Linked DNA regions of Homo sapiens: regions 1, 3, 4 and 5 are each linked to region 2. The links are contacts of gene promoters, found by promoter capture Hi-C in human tissues and cell types (Jung and others, 2019). All regions are on one chromosome and are shown on one strand. Each heading gives the region's core, a stretch centred on a gene start or on the middle of the fragment in contact. The rest is flanking DNA. Distances are from core to core; before and after follow the strand shown.

Region 1 (2,700 bases), core at 197-2,696, 710 kb before region 2:
TTTGGATGACTCAGTCTTCCCTTTCTTCTTTCAAGATAGCATCTGGATTTACAGGGGTCTTATGTGAATTTCATGGCATTGGATTGGGGGAAGGGGCCTCTTAGTCACATGGTCCTGGGGGTTGTGTCAGCTGGCATTTGCTGAGATGTGATCGATCTGCTATAAATTAGTGAATAACAACCCTGAGAGGTAGCATTACAACCATTTTACAGATGAGGAAGCTGAGGCTAAGAGAGATTTAGTAACTTGCTCAAGATCACAAAGTTAGTAAGTGAACCAGGAATCAATACTGCCCCGATTACAGTAGGCACTTAGTTATATGAGTCTAGGATTCCAGAGAGAAGTTAAGGCTAGACTTGGGAGCACTGGGAGTCTTCATGATATAGCTTCAGGGATGTGATCCTCCAAGGAGAGCATGTAGAGCGGGATGAGAAGACGGCCGGATCAGAATAGGTGACAATCACTGGCCTGTGAAGGTCGGGGAGGACAAGGTCTACCTCACTGCTCCTGTCCAAGCTATCTTCTTCTTAGGGGAGCTTTTAGGATGGCAAGGCAGGATTTCCACCACGCCTGCACCTATTCCAGCCAGGGCAGAACCATCGCTCAGGACACTCCATTTCTGTCCCAGACTCCCCAACAGCCTGGCAGCAAGCCTGCGACCAACACTGGGTAGGAACTCAGTAAATGTGTCCAAAGAACCTGTGTTGCCAGAGATTTTCACACCTCTTAGGGCCAGGGAACCTGGGGCCCTCTAAAGTGGGAATGCAGAGTCCACACCCAGGTGGCAGAGGGAAGTGCGGGACTGCACTATAGGCGGTTCCCTAGGTGAGGAGATTCAGTCTCCTGCCAGGTGTGGGGACGCGGGGCCTTCCTCCGGATGACTTACTTAAGAGACCTCTCCCAGATACAGAGGGGTGGTTTCCTCACATGTGGAAATGCAGAGGCCTTGGCCTTTCTCGGATGTGGGGTGTACAACCCTTCCAGGTGTAGAAGGTGCAAGAAATCCCTACCAGAGGTTAGGCCTTGCCCCCACCCCATCCCCTCTCCCGGGAAGGATCCAGGGCCAGCTACTCCTTCGGCCCTCCTCCCGCCCCGCGCCGGCACGAGAGGCGGGCTGGTCCCCACCTCAGCGCACCACCAATGGTGCGGGAACCGGGGTTCGGCCAGCCAATTGAGTGGCGGCAGCGGCGCTGGGATGGCTCCGCCCCCGGGCCGCAGGCCGCCGGCCTCCCAGGAGGCGAGGCTCTTCGCTGTTTTTGCTGGCCGCCGAGCCCGGCCGAGCCCAGCCGAACGTAGCCGAGCCCAGCCGAGCCCAACCGAACGCAGCCGAGCCCAGCCGAACACCGCGCAGCTCCCGCCGCCGCCGCCCGAGCGCTGCCGAGCGAGCGAGCGCCGCGGCCGCGGAGGAGGTGCGGCCCCAAGGGGAGGAGGTGCCCGCTCACCGCAGACCGCCCGCGGCAGAGGCCGCCCCGGTCGCGCCGCGGCGGGAGCGGCCGGTGGAGGCTGCGCGGCCGAGGGGGAGGGCCGGGGGAGCGGACGTCGCCTCTGCTGGTCTCCCACCTCCCGCCGCCCCCCGCCCGCAGGCTCCCAAGCCTTAGTCGGCGCCGAGCATCCCGCTGCCCCGGACCCTCCCGCGGGCGCGCACCAGGCTCAACTCAGGTAAGAAGGGCCTCCCGCCACGGGCACGGGGGCCAAGAACACGCGACCCGAAGATGGAGATAAAGAGACAGAGACACACTGCCGCGGAGAGAGACGAACACAAAGACAGAGACACAGGAACCACCGAAAAGACCCCACGGAGAAGGGGATAGGGACACGTCCATGGGAACAGAGGGGGATACAGCCTGGAAGAGAGAGAGAGACACAGAGACTGATGCAGAGATACACAGAGACACACTGGTAGAGAAATGAGACATAGAGGAGACATACTCAGAGATGGGGACACACGGAGAGGCAGCCACACACACAGAGGTGGGTGTGCAGAGGCACAGGCACACATCCAACGGAGGGACAGTGAGACACCAGACACACACACACACCTGACCCAGAGAGGCAGCCCCACATAGAGGCACACAGCCCTGGACGCACAGAGCCTGCACATGCCTGCCAGGGCCTCCACAAAGTTCCCTCTGTGCAAGCTGGCGCCTCTGGAGGTCTCCTGGTCGGGCTGGCTGGAGTCCTGGGAGAGAGGAGGCGCCCAGGCCACACCAGAGCTGCTTACAACCCCCATCCTTTTGGGCTGGGGGCTTCCTGGATCCCACCCACCAACAGAGGGCTTTTGAGGGCTGCAAGCTTGGTGGGCAGGACCAGGGCATGCCCACCAGGTCTAAGGAGAATGAGATGACGGCTGCCTACTGCAGCTTCCCCACGGTGGCTACACACTCATTCAGGTGGCCAGAACCAAGCCTGTGGATGGGGGTGATGGCTCTGTGGGGTATTCGAGCCTGTTGGGACCCAAGGTCTTTCACCAGGGAGGCCAGAAATGTGGGAGGGAGGCTCTCTTCCCTACCTCTCTCCTCCTAGGCCTCACCCCACCCTTCCTCCTCACCACCCTCTCCTTTACTGTATACCCCCAACAGGCTCAGGACTGCAGGTAGACATCTCCACTGCCCAGGAATCACTGAGCGTGCAGACAGCACAGCCTCCTCTGAAGGCCGGCCATACCAGAGTCCTGCCTCGGCATGGGCCTCACCATTGAGG
Region 2 (2,700 bases), core at 171-2,670:
GATAATGACAAGACGACGCGGGCACCCTTTTTTTTTTTTTTTTTTTTTTTACCACCCCTAGGGTCCCATTCTTCACCACCACCCATTGGAATGCAAAGTTGGCACTACCACTACCCAAGATGCCCAACAAATCCTCAAAATGTCAGGGCACTCGGCAGCTTCTGAAATGACAAGCTGGTGCCCCTCCCCCACCCCACCCCCACCCCCACCCCCCAAAAAAGAAAAGTCCAATCCAGTCGGTGCAGGTCACCCTGCCCTCTGGGGCAGTTCCAGCCTGCGCAGGGAGGGGTTCCGACCGGAGAACGAAAAAGCACAGATAGACCACCGCTCTTTCCACCCACCCTCAGCGGGGGAAACAAAGGCGGCCTCCTCCGCCCGTAGACACTACCCTAACCAGAGAGGCTCTCCGATTTCCCGGTGCAGCCTGCCCTCCCGCCCCCGCCCGAGCCCCCGCCCCCATGACAAAGAAAAGGCACTCGGCGAGCAAGGCCTTCCTGCCTCCAGGGATGGGGGAGGGGGCTGCACGGGTGAGAAGCCCCCTCCACTCGCCCGTGCTCATACTCCTGGTCCCAGGAACTGCAGAAAGCGGCGGGGAGCCGGAGGCCTCGGCCGCGGAAGCAGGGTCCGGGAGGAGGGTGAGGGTACCTTGAAGTAGCCGCCTTCGTAGAGGGTGTTGGGGGGTCCGAAGATGGCCACCTCCCAGTTGTAGAGGTCGGACTCGTCCACCAGGGTGATCCGGAAGCCCTCCACCGGTTCCTCCTGCAGGGATTTCAGCTCGAGCATCAGGGCCTTCTGCGAGCTGGTCATCTGCTGCTGGGCCATCGCGGCGGCGGCGGCGGCGGCGGCGCCGGGCCCGGGCCCCAGTCCTCACGCACCGGCCGGGCCGGACCAGGCCCCTCCCCTCCGCTCGCCCTCCGGCCGGGCAGCACCGGGCCCCGGTCTTCACACACCCGGCGGGCCAGACCAGGCCCCACACGGCCCGTGGGCCCGCCCGGGGTCCTCCTCACACACGACGCAGGCCGGGCCGGGCCCTTCTCCTCACACTCGGGCCGGGCGAGAGGAGAGGTCGAGGGAGTTAGGAGAATTCGCTACGGGTCCCGGTCCCGGGCCTCCCCCCCCCGGAGGGGGCCTCAACTTGGGGGGGGGGAGAGGAGGTGGAAGCGGAGGAAGGCGGCGGAGGGCCGGCGATGGTGAAGGGAGGGGGCCGGGCCGGCCCGGGAACGCCGCGCTCGCTCGCCCTCTCGTTCTCTTCGGGGGCCGCAGGGGCCGGAGGGCGCGCGGGGCAGGAGAGGGTGGGGGGAGAGCGGCGTGCGGGGGTCTCGCGGCGGTGGCGGCGGGGGCTGCGCGGGGGGAGGGGCGACGGCGGAGGAGGAGGAGAGCGAGAGCGCCTCGCGCCGCGGGAGCAACGGAGCCGAGAAGCAGGGAGGGAGGGAGGGAGGGAGAGAGGGAGGAGGGGCGCACGCCGGGTGCTGGGCGGCTCTCAGCGGCTGGCGGCCCGACGCGCGTGCGCGTGCCCCTCCCTCCCCTCCCCCCACCGTGCCTGGCTCTCCTCCACTACCACCTCCTCCTCCTCCCGTTTCCACGCCTCCTCTCGGTCTCCCGCGCGGTCGCGGCGCTTTGTGACGCTGGCGCGTGTCCCCCGCCCATAAAGATCCCAGAAGCAGCGGGGACCAAGGGCGGGCGCAGGGATTGCCGTGGCCCCAGAGTGACGGTTGTGCGGCTGGACGCCGCAGTTCCAAAGGCGTGCCCGGGAAGGGAACCCAGGTCTCCCGGCTCTCGGGGCCCTCCCCACTGTGGATCCAGGGGCCTCCGCAGCCATCCTGGGACGGGCCTGGTCGCTGCAGGCCCCTCCCCGTGACACCCAGTCTGCGGTCCCTCCACTTAGTAGCTACTTGATTAGGATGTGCTGACAATGTGGGTCTTTTCGGTGGGAACAGACCTTCCCGCAGGCCAGCCCACAGGCAAGTGTGCCCTTTGGCACGTTACTCACCCTGGGTGCGGCAGTTCCACGTGAGAAACGGGGTGAGACAAAAAGGTCAGCTTCTGCTTCCCTTCTTAACTACAAAGAGGAAGTTGTGAGGAAAAAGACAATAACAAACTGGGTCTCTAGCCCTTCTCATTGTGATTTGGGGCAAGTGCTCAGGCTGCCCTTCGCCTTCGCCATTTGTAAAATAAACTACTGTGGTTGAACTTAGGGGTCAAAGTTCCCTATAGGTGCTTGTGGCTTGAATGTCCACCCTGGAACTGAGGGACTTTCGAGATAATCATAACCGAAGTGAGATGTGGGGACAGTCTTTGGTCCCCCCGTGGTTCAGAATACAGTACTCCTTTCTCCTAGGAAGGCATGTCCTAGGATAACTGCCTAAAAAACATTTCCTAGAAAAGCCAGAATATTGTGAGAGTTCTACACACACAGTTTCGGAACTAGACAGATCTTGGTTCCAACCCTAGTTCCATTACTTCTCCCTGTATCATCAGTTTTTTGTTTTTTGGTTTTGTTTTGTTTGAGACAGGGTCTTGCTCTGTCACCCAGGCTGTAGCACAGTGGCGCGATCATGGCCCACTGCAACCTCCGCCTCCCAGGTTCAAGCGATTCTCCCACCTCAGCCTCCCAAGTAGCTAGGACTACAGGTGCATGCCTCCACACCCGGCTGTTTAATCAGCTTCTGTAAAAGGGGATTAATTATACCCAACACAAGC
Region 3 (2,700 bases), core at 30-2,529, 810 kb before region 2:
AGTGGGGTCCAGGCTGTTCAGAGCAGAAATTCTGAGAGGCCTGCCACTCAGAACCCCCAAATAAGGAACAGCATTTCAGCGTCTTGGGAATAGTTAGGGGGAGGGCGCAAAGCAGTGGGCTGAGGGGGTCTGGAGATACAGATGTGGCAGTCAGGCACACATAGGTGGAGAATGTGTGTGAACATGGGCGAAGTGCCGGTCACTGTTGAAACAAACCTATGATGAGTACCAGAGGTTCATTATACTATTCACTTGTCTATGTTTCAAAATTTTCATAATACAGGCTGGGTACGGTAGCTCATGCCTGTAATCCCAGCACTGTGGGTGGCCAGGGTGGGTGGATCACTTGAGGTCAGGAGTTCGAGACCAGCCTAGCCAAAATGGTGAAACCCCATCTCTACTAAAAAGACAAAAATTAGCCGGGTCTGGTGGTGGACGCCTGTAATCCCAGCTAATTCCAGCTATTCGGGAGGCTGAGGCAGTAGAATCACTTGAACCTGGGAGGCGGAGGCTGCAGTGAGCCCAGATCGCGCCACTGCACTCCAGCCTGGGTGACAGAGACTCTGTCTCCAAAAAAGAAAAAAAAGAAAAGAAAGAAAAAGAAAAGAAAAGAAAATTTCCATAATAGAATGTCAAAAGAGACAAAAACTGTGTGTGGCTGTGTATCTGCATGCGGTGAGTGTGCAGTCAGCTTAAAGACCTCTGAGAGTGTGTGAGTGCATAGGTGTGGGTCCACCACCATGTGCACTCATGTGTGCAAACCGCAGCATGCCCGCAGTGGGGGACAGCACGTAGGCAGGGCAGGGGTGCTCAAGGCAAAGGGAGAAGCTTCTATTCTGACCAGACCCTCCACGCACACCCCAGCATCTTGCAGAGGGATTCCCCTCTTGATCACAGCGTGCCCAGGCCATTGGCACTGTGGTGACCATGTCACGGAACGTGTGAGACTGGGAAGCTATGCGCCTGAACTTGTGACAAGGTGTGTTGGTGTGTGGATGCGGCTATTTGTATGTGGAAGCCCAGTGCCGAGTGTGGGTGTCGGGGGCACGACTTGTGAGGCTGGGCGGGGCTCTGGTCCGGAGTCCGGTGGCGGTAGAGCCCTCATTTTCGCACGATTCCCCCGCAGCTTTCCAGCGCCCCCTGCCCCCGAAGCTGGCTGGAAAGAAGGTGGGAGACACCTGTTGGGGAGCTGAGAGCGGCAGATCCCACAGGGGCCTCTCCCCATGCGCCCCGCCCGCCCTGCCCCGCTCGGGTCCCGCCCCCGCGGCCGCCGCAAGCAGCGCGGCGAGTGAGCGCACAGCCGCCAGAGGAGCACAGGGCGGCGGGAGCGCACCGCCGGGACCCAGCCGAGGCCAGGGCCGCCTGGGAGGCGGGCGGAGCAAAGGCAGCGCCGTGGAGACGCCAGGGGCAGCGGGCCACGCCAGGCAGGTGAGTGCGGCCGCGGGGCGCCCGGAGCGAGGGAGCCGGGCGTCGCGACTCTGCCGCCTCCTGCCCGTCCGGTCCCGTGCCCGTCCCAGGCTCTGCCCCACCGCCCTCCATCCCCGCGACTCCTTGGTCCCTGTCCTCTGCCCCTCTCTCCGGCTGTTTTTCCCGTCCCTGTCTCTGTCGGTCCCTCTCTATTTAACTGTCTCTTTCTAATCTCTCTCTTCTGTCCGTTTCCTGCTGTCTTGGTCTTTCCCTATATCTCAACCCCTGTCTATTTGTCTATCTCCGCCTCTGTCTCTCCGTCTCTGTCCGTCTCTGAGCTACCTGTCACTTAGGTCTTTTATCTGTTGCTCCTCTACCTCTCTTACCCTCCCTGTCTCTCTACCCAATATTCTATCTCTCTCCATCTCTGTCTGTCTACCCTGTCTCTGCCTGATACCTCTGCCTCTCTCCATCTTGGTCCCTCTCAGTCTCTGTGTCACCCCACTTCTGTCTCTCCTTGTCACCCTGTTCCATCTCTATTTTCACATCTCCCTGTCATTGTCTCTGTCGGACATCCCCCTTCTCCTTTTCTTTCTCTCTCCCTTCCTTCACCATTTCCCGATGTCTCTTGGTCCCCGTCACCCTCTCTGATCTGCTCACTCTTCCAGTCCTCAGTCAATGGCCATTTGATTCCCCGGGTCTGGTCCTGTTTCTGTTCACCTCTGGGAAAGCCATCTTTCTGCCTCTTTCCTTGTGACCCCTGCACTTCCCTGAATCCATGACCACCTCCCCCTGTGTTGGGGGGCTCTGGGGGCAGTAGGGCCCAGCACCCATAATTCCCTCCCCCACAGGCGGCCCTTTCCTCGGGGTCCCGCCTGGTACCAGGGACCCCCTCAGCTGGGGGACTGCGCCTGGAAGCTGTCATGGAGGCCCTGCAGAAGCAGCAGGCAGCTCGGCTGGCCCAGGGGGTGGGGCCATTGGCCCCTGCATGCCCGCTGCTGCCACCGCAGCCTCCCCTGCCTGACCACCGGACCCTACAGGCCCCTGAGGGGGCCTTGGGGAATGTTGGGGCTGAGGAAGAGGAAGATGCTGAAGAAGATGAGGAGAAGCGGGAGGAAGCCGGGGCAGAGGAGGAGGCAGCTGAGGAGAGCCGTCCAGGGGCCCAGGGCCCCAGCTCGCCTTCTAGCCAGCCCCCTGGACTCCATCCCCACGAGTGGACCTACGAGGAACAATTCAAGCAGGTAGGACCTATGCCCTCAATGTCCGGCCCTCTTCCCTATCTCTCTCTTCTGG
Region 4 (2,700 bases), core at 1-2,500, 830 kb before region 2:
ACTGAGGCCCATGCATCAACAACAGCCCGGATCTCAGGGACCGACATGAGTGGCAGCGTTACATCCGACCAGGGGTGGAAGCACATGACCTTACTGGGTGGTGACGGGAGAAAAGATAACCGAGAGGTAGGGCTTGGCTGTGCTACGGGCAGGGCCGAACCCCAATGCTGAGTCTCCAACTCTGGTTTGAAAGTTGTAAGAGGGGAAATCCATAGTTACCAGACTCCTCGAGCAGACTTTGCTTGGAAAAGGGGATGATCACTGGGTCCTGAGGTAAAGGAGTATCACTCTCTGCAGCAGAAGTCCCTCAAGAGGTCTAGCCACCCTCCTCCCCAGCAGCAGTTGGAGCCAGGTTACCTGGACTGGGGGCATCAGGCTGCAGAGCTGGGAAGTCGTTGTCAAACAGGAAGGTGCTATCGTACTGGGGATTCACCTACCGACAAGGATAGGCTAGAAGCACTCACTGCCCCATACCACCAGTTACCTGGTGGGCTTCAAAGACTGGACAGGCTACAAGGGAGTAGGGAAGGCCCACCCTAGGGGACCAAAAAGCTTGGTGGGATATGACCCAGAAGGAGGTTCACTATCCCTGTGGGTGGAGGACAGTTCTAAGAGGGAACTACTCCCCGTGGCCCAGCCTGCAGATGCAGGGCTCTACAGGCTTACCTCTCCGTTGGCTCGGATGGCCCCAGGACACAGAGGGTTGAGAGGGTCATGGCGGGGCACTGTCTTCAGAAGCTGGGGCTCCACTTGACCCTGCCAGGGCCGCTTCATGCGGTGAGCTGACACCAGCACCCACTCATCCTGCAGCGGGTTGTAGCGGATATGCTGATGGTCTGGGGGCAGACAGTCAAGATCAGTCCTCAGAGCTCTCTAGCTCCCTCTCTCCTGGGTCTCACCCACCAGCAGGCCCAAGCTCGGGAGCGCCCTCTCGGCCCTGTCCCGCTCAGGAGCTAGAGGCCCAGGATTGGACTTTCCCAGCGCCAATTGGCCTGCTGCTCGTACAGGCCTGCAGACTGTACGCCTTGTCGGTCTGGCTCGGGATGAGCGTTCCAACCTTCGGAGGGGACGAAAGCTTCCTAAGGAAGGGGAGGGCTCGGCTCCGCGCCCCAGCGAGTCCCTGCCGCGGTGCAGTTACCGTTTGCCCGGAAGGTTGCTGCTGCGGCGTCCGCCTCTGACGCCTGCTGGCGTTGCTGAGGATCGGTTCCACTGCGCGACATGAGGCCACCGGGGGATCCGCTGGAAAATCTGCAGGGCCGTGCCTCACCTTTCACTTTCTCCGTCCACACCACCCCTCCCCGCGCCGCCCCCGATGATTGGCCAGCCGCCAGCACGTGACTGACTGACTGGGCTGCCCTGCCACCTGGGGGCGGGGCTCAGAACAGCTGTGAACCCTGGGGGCCGACATTGATGATCCTACTTCACCCAGAGCTAGAGCCACTACACTGGAAGAACCTCTGTGAAAGCTGCCTACTGCAGAATCCTTGGGCTCCAGGATGCCTACAGGACTTGCTTGCTGCAATCATTCATTTGATCTTTCATTCAGCAAATATTTACCAAGCATCTAGCATGTGCTAGGCACCTAGGCTGTGTAAAGCATTGGGATGCACATGTCAGGCATGGCCTCTGCCCTGCCTGAGCTTACATTCTAGGGCGAGTAAGGATATGACCCTGGATCAACAGCGCCTCAGTCACCTGCTCAGTGGCTGTAGCGCAGGAGAGGCAAACTTGGTGGGGTCTGTGTGGAGTACTTCACCATAACCATATCCTATCCCCAAAAGCAAAAACAGATTTGGGAAAAAGGGCTAAGTAACCATATTCTCTTTTTCTCTCACTCTTGCTCTCCTTCCTCTCTCTCTCTCTCTCTTTTTCATACACACACCAAGACAGCACAAGAAGTGGGAGGGGTAAAAGGGCTATAAAAAAAAATCTAAAAATGGCCGGGCTCGGTGGCTCACGCCTGTAATCCCAACACTTTGGGAGACCAAGGCAGGCGGATCACAAGGTCAAGAAATTGAGACCATCCTGGCCAACATGGTGAAACCCCGTCTCTAGTAAAAAAAAAAAAAAAAAAAATTAGCTGGTCTTGGTGGCGTGCACCTGTAGTCCCACCTACTCGGGAGGCTGAGGCAGGAGAATCACTTGAACCCAGGAGGCAGAGGTTGCAGTGAGCCGAGATTGTGCCCATGCACTCTAGCCTGGCGACAGAGCAGACTCCGTCACAAAAAAAAAAAAAAAAGTACAAGAAAGTCTAAAAATGTGGAGAGTACAGGACTATCAGAAGCTCCAGCCACCATCTAGGTGGGGCCTAGTGTTTCCTTTACACATCCCCTTCCCTTTTCTAAATTTTCCTTGGATGGGACCAATTGGCTAACACTAGGATAAAATTCAAATTAATTCCTCCCCTGGTACTTTTGTTTGTTTGTTTGTTTGAGAGAGAGTCTCACTCTGCCACCCAGGCTGGAGTGCAGTGGCGTGATCTTGGCTCACTGCAACCTCCACCTCCCAGGTTCAAGCGATTCTCCTGCCTCAGCCTCCAAGTAGCTGGAATTAGAGCTGTGTGCCACCACACTGGGCTAATTTATGTATTTTTAGTAGAGACGGGGTTTCACATGTTGGCCAGGCTGGTCTTGAACTCCTGACTTCAAGTGATCCTCCTGCCTCAGCCTCCCAAACAGCTGGCCCCCAGTACTTTTAAAG
Region 5 (2,700 bases), core at 160-2,659, 640 kb before region 2:
GGTGAGGACAGGGATGAGAAAAGGGCCTCTCTCCTCTTCCTCTTTGCCTGCCCTTTCTCTCCTCATAAATCTCCCAGCACAGAAAATAAAATCACACTCCTGCACATAGCCTGTCCTGTATTCTGTTTAGTTCTCTTGCACACCCTCTGTGGGCTCCCAAACAGCAAGAGCTGTGTTCCCACCTAGCCTGGAGCTAGGCACACAGCAAAGGGTTGGATAAAGAATGCCTTTGAGGCTGGGCGCCGTGGCTCACGCCTGTAATCCCAGCACTTCGGAAGGTCAAGGTAGGAGGATCGCTTGAGCTCAGGAGTTAGAGACGGGCCTGGGCAACATGGGGAAACCCCGTCTCTACCAAAAACACAAAATTTAGCCGGGCGTGGTGGCCTATGCCTTTGGTTCCAGCTATTCGTCAGGCTGAAGTGGGAGAATCGCTTGCACCCAGGAGGCAGAGGTTACAGAGAGCTGAGATGGCGCCACTGCATTCTAGCCTGGGCTACAGGGCGAGCCTCTGTCTCAAAAAAAAAAAAAGAAAGAAAGAAAGAAAAAGAAAAAGAAAAATTCCTTTGGGACAAGAATGTGAGAACAAGGAGGAAGGGACTCGTGGGAATGGGGATGGGGAAGTTAAGGAGAATAGACTGGTCAGAATGAGTCCATGGGGTAAAGTGAAGTGAAGAGATGGGAATGGTGGATAAAAGGAGAGAGGTAAGAAACGGTGGATTGGGGTAGTATGGGAGAGGAGGCCGGGATTAGTGGGAAAGAGTAGGACAGAGTCAGAGGTCAGTGGGAGCACTTACCAGAGGTCACGGGGGTGAGAAGGCTGGGGTCAACAGAGAAAAGATCAAGGATCAGTAGGAGAGGTATGATTAGTGGTCACTGGCGACGACGAAGGTCAGAGGTCATCAGAAGGAAGGTGTGCGTACGTTACCTGCTTATGAGGCTGTTTATGGGGAGCCTTCGCAGAAGCAGGAATCATCTCAACCCCTGGAGAGCCTACAAAACGCTCCCTCGTCTGAAGACAAAAAGTTTGTCCGTCTCCTTGACCACACACAAGAAATCTGGACTCTCTTCCACTTCAGTTACCAGTCGCAACGGTTCTTTAGGGACAGCCGTCGTTGTGGGTCCCCGTGCCCTTGCAGGATAGAATCCAACTCCCTGACGCGGTTACCCAGCAACCGACCAGCAGCCAAGGCGCAGGCGCTTCGGCGCGCCCAGCCGGCCCGGAAAGGAGGCGGGGTTGGGCGCGCGGCGAGCGAGTCTCCACTAAGCCCCGCCCCCTCAGGAATCACAGCTGGGCGGCCGCGCGCATTCGGAACTCCCGCATGTGGGTGGGGCTGGGGTCCCCAGGCACCGCCTCCTCATGAATAATGCAAGATCCGGGCGGTGTCCCGGACCCGGAAGTGGAGTTGCCGAGTCACCGCAGTGGCTGAGCTGCTGACAGGAGGCGGCAGCGGAGTAGGAGGCGAGGCAAGACCTGCGGCTCGGCCCGGCCACAGCCGCGGTAGTGCTAGGCAAGCCCACGGAGTCACGCCGGCCTCAGCCAGTCTGCGAACCTCTCGCCCCCGCCCACCCCTGCATCCGCCCGGCCCCTGCCCGCCCGAGTGGTCCGGGGAGGCCTAGTCTGCACCACCCGCCGGGCTCCTGGGGCCGCCGCCCCGCGCGGTCCTGTCGGCGTCCGCGGCCGCGCCCGGCCCCTGGCCCGCTCGCCCGCCGGCACCATGATGGAGGAGATCGACCGGTTCCAGGTGCCCACCGCGCACTCGGAGATGCAGCCGCTGGTGAGGGGGCGGGCGGCGGGCAGGCCAAGGCCGGAGGGGGCGTCGCTTGAGGGGGAGGGAGGGAATCAGGCCGGGGGGATCGTGCGGAGGGGCGCCATCGGATGGGGCAAAGAGATCCCTGAAAACGTATTGCCGGGGGACGGGGACTTGCAGGACAAGAAAACCGTGGGAGAATATGCTGGATGAGAGCAAAGGGACCTGTAAGGGCGGAGGGCACCGTCGGTGGAAGCAGGGCACCGTCGGATGGAACGGAGGGGGCACAAAGGTGCACACCGCTAGTGGAGGCCCATAGCAGGGACTGGCGAGGGAACTGCCATGGGGCACCGCCGGCGGCAGGCCCAGGGGTCTGGGATGGGAGGTGGGGAGGCGTTTAGTCCTAGAGGCCTGTGATGCTTAGGGCGGGGGAGCCGTCAGGCTAAGAGAGATTGGGAATCAGCTTTTAGAAGAGGAGGGGCTTGCCCGCCTGTCCGCTGGATATACGGACAGGAACGCTGGGCCGGGGCGAGGGACCCAGTGGGGGAAGGTGGTTGGTGCAGAACCTGGGAATTCCGTTCTCCGGTGGGGAGCGCAGGCAGACCAGGCTGGGGGCATCTAAACCGGGAAGGAGAGTGCGCGGCGACCAGATGGGGAATCGGGGTGCAGATGAGAGTGCTCGGGAACCGACGGGAGAGGAAGTGGGGTCGCGCTGGAGCTGCCTGTGCGCACTGGTTGGGAAGAGCCCCCATCATCTTAGGCCTACGTGCCTGAAGTCCTTGCTGGGCGCGGATCCTGCCGCCTGTCCGCGGTCCCGGAGTCAGGGAGGAATGATGTCATCGCTGCTGGCGCGGAGGGAATGGAAGGGGGAGGGCAACTCGGGTGCACCGAGGCTAGGCCTAAGGGAGACCATGCTTGCTGGCCACCGCCCAGGGGGCTCCCTGACCTCGCT

The links. The method cuts DNA at HindIII sites, captures the fragments that hold promoters and counts their contacts. A contact is called where the count stands out against the background at its distance.
Region 1: the fragment with the promoter of ENHO here is called in contact with the fragment with the promoter of UBE2R2 in region 2 in 2 of the 25 tissues and cell types used here (dorsolateral prefrontal cortex and lymphoblastoid cells).
Region 3: a contact is called between the fragment with the promoter of ARID3C here and the fragment with the promoter of UBE2R2 in region 2, in 1 of the 25 tissues and cell types used here (lymphoblastoid cells).
Region 4: a contact is called between the fragment with the promoter of GALT here and the fragment with the promoter of UBE2R2 in region 2, in 1 of the 25 tissues and cell types used here (dorsolateral prefrontal cortex).
Region 5: the fragment with the promoter of FAM219A here is called in contact with the fragment with the promoter of UBE2R2 in region 2 in 1 of the 25 tissues and cell types used here (dorsolateral prefrontal cortex).

What each region holds. Positions count from the first base shown.
Region 1 is chr9:34,521,736-34,524,435 of GRCh38, reverse strand. It overlaps ENHO (energy homeostasis associated), which reads left to right and starts at 1,446. Exons shown (of 2, transcript NM_198573.3): 1 at 1,446-1,659; 2 at 2,580-2,700. RefSeq lists silencers at 1,021-1,390, 1,411-1,520 and an enhancer at 2,150-2,700. The HindIII fragment of the contact is 6,325 bases long and covers 1-2,700 here.
Region 2 is chr9:33,815,880-33,818,579 of GRCh38, reverse strand. UBE2R2 (ubiquitin conjugating enzyme E2 R2) reads right to left here and starts at 1,420. Exons shown (of 5, transcript NM_017811.4): 1 at 646-1,420. The coding sequence starts at 822. The region is part of intron 1 of UBE2R2-AS1 (UBE2R2 antisense RNA 1); the gene reads left to right. RefSeq lists silencers at 801-970, 1,041-1,250, 1,431-1,530 and an enhancer at 1,821-1,910. The HindIII fragment of the contact is 14,786 bases long and covers 1-2,700 here.
Region 3 is chr9:34,627,645-34,630,344 of GRCh38, reverse strand. It overlaps ARID3C (AT-rich interaction domain 3C), which reads left to right and starts at 1,279. Exons shown (of 8, transcript NM_001017363.4): 1 at 1,279-1,428; 2 at 2,259-2,648. The coding sequence starts at 2,331. RefSeq lists silencers at 1,161-1,320, 1,371-1,470. The HindIII fragment of the contact is 10,650 bases long and covers 1-2,700 here.
Region 4 is chr9:34,645,225-34,647,924 of GRCh38, reverse strand. It overlaps GALT (galactose-1-phosphate uridylyltransferase), which reads right to left and starts at 1,250. Exons shown (of 11, transcript NM_000155.4): 1 at 1,139-1,250; 2 at 667-836; 3 at 358-433; 4 at 220-268; 5 at 1-93. The coding sequence starts at 1,220. RefSeq lists enhancers at 646-825, 1,396-1,505. The HindIII fragment of the contact is 1,689 bases long and covers 815-2,503 here.
Region 5 is chr9:34,457,279-34,459,978 of GRCh38, reverse strand. FAM219A (family with sequence similarity 219 member A) reads left to right here and starts at 1,409. Exons shown (of 6, transcript NM_001184940.2): 1 at 1,409-1,775. The coding sequence starts at 1,716. DNAI1 (dynein axonemal intermediate chain 1) reads right to left here and starts at 1,174. Exons shown (of 20, transcript NM_012144.4): 1 at 926-1,174. The coding sequence starts at 973. RefSeq lists enhancers at 1,048-1,117, 1,214-1,508, 1,071-1,611 and a silencer at 1,488-1,737. The HindIII fragment of the contact is 10,660 bases long and covers 1-2,700 here.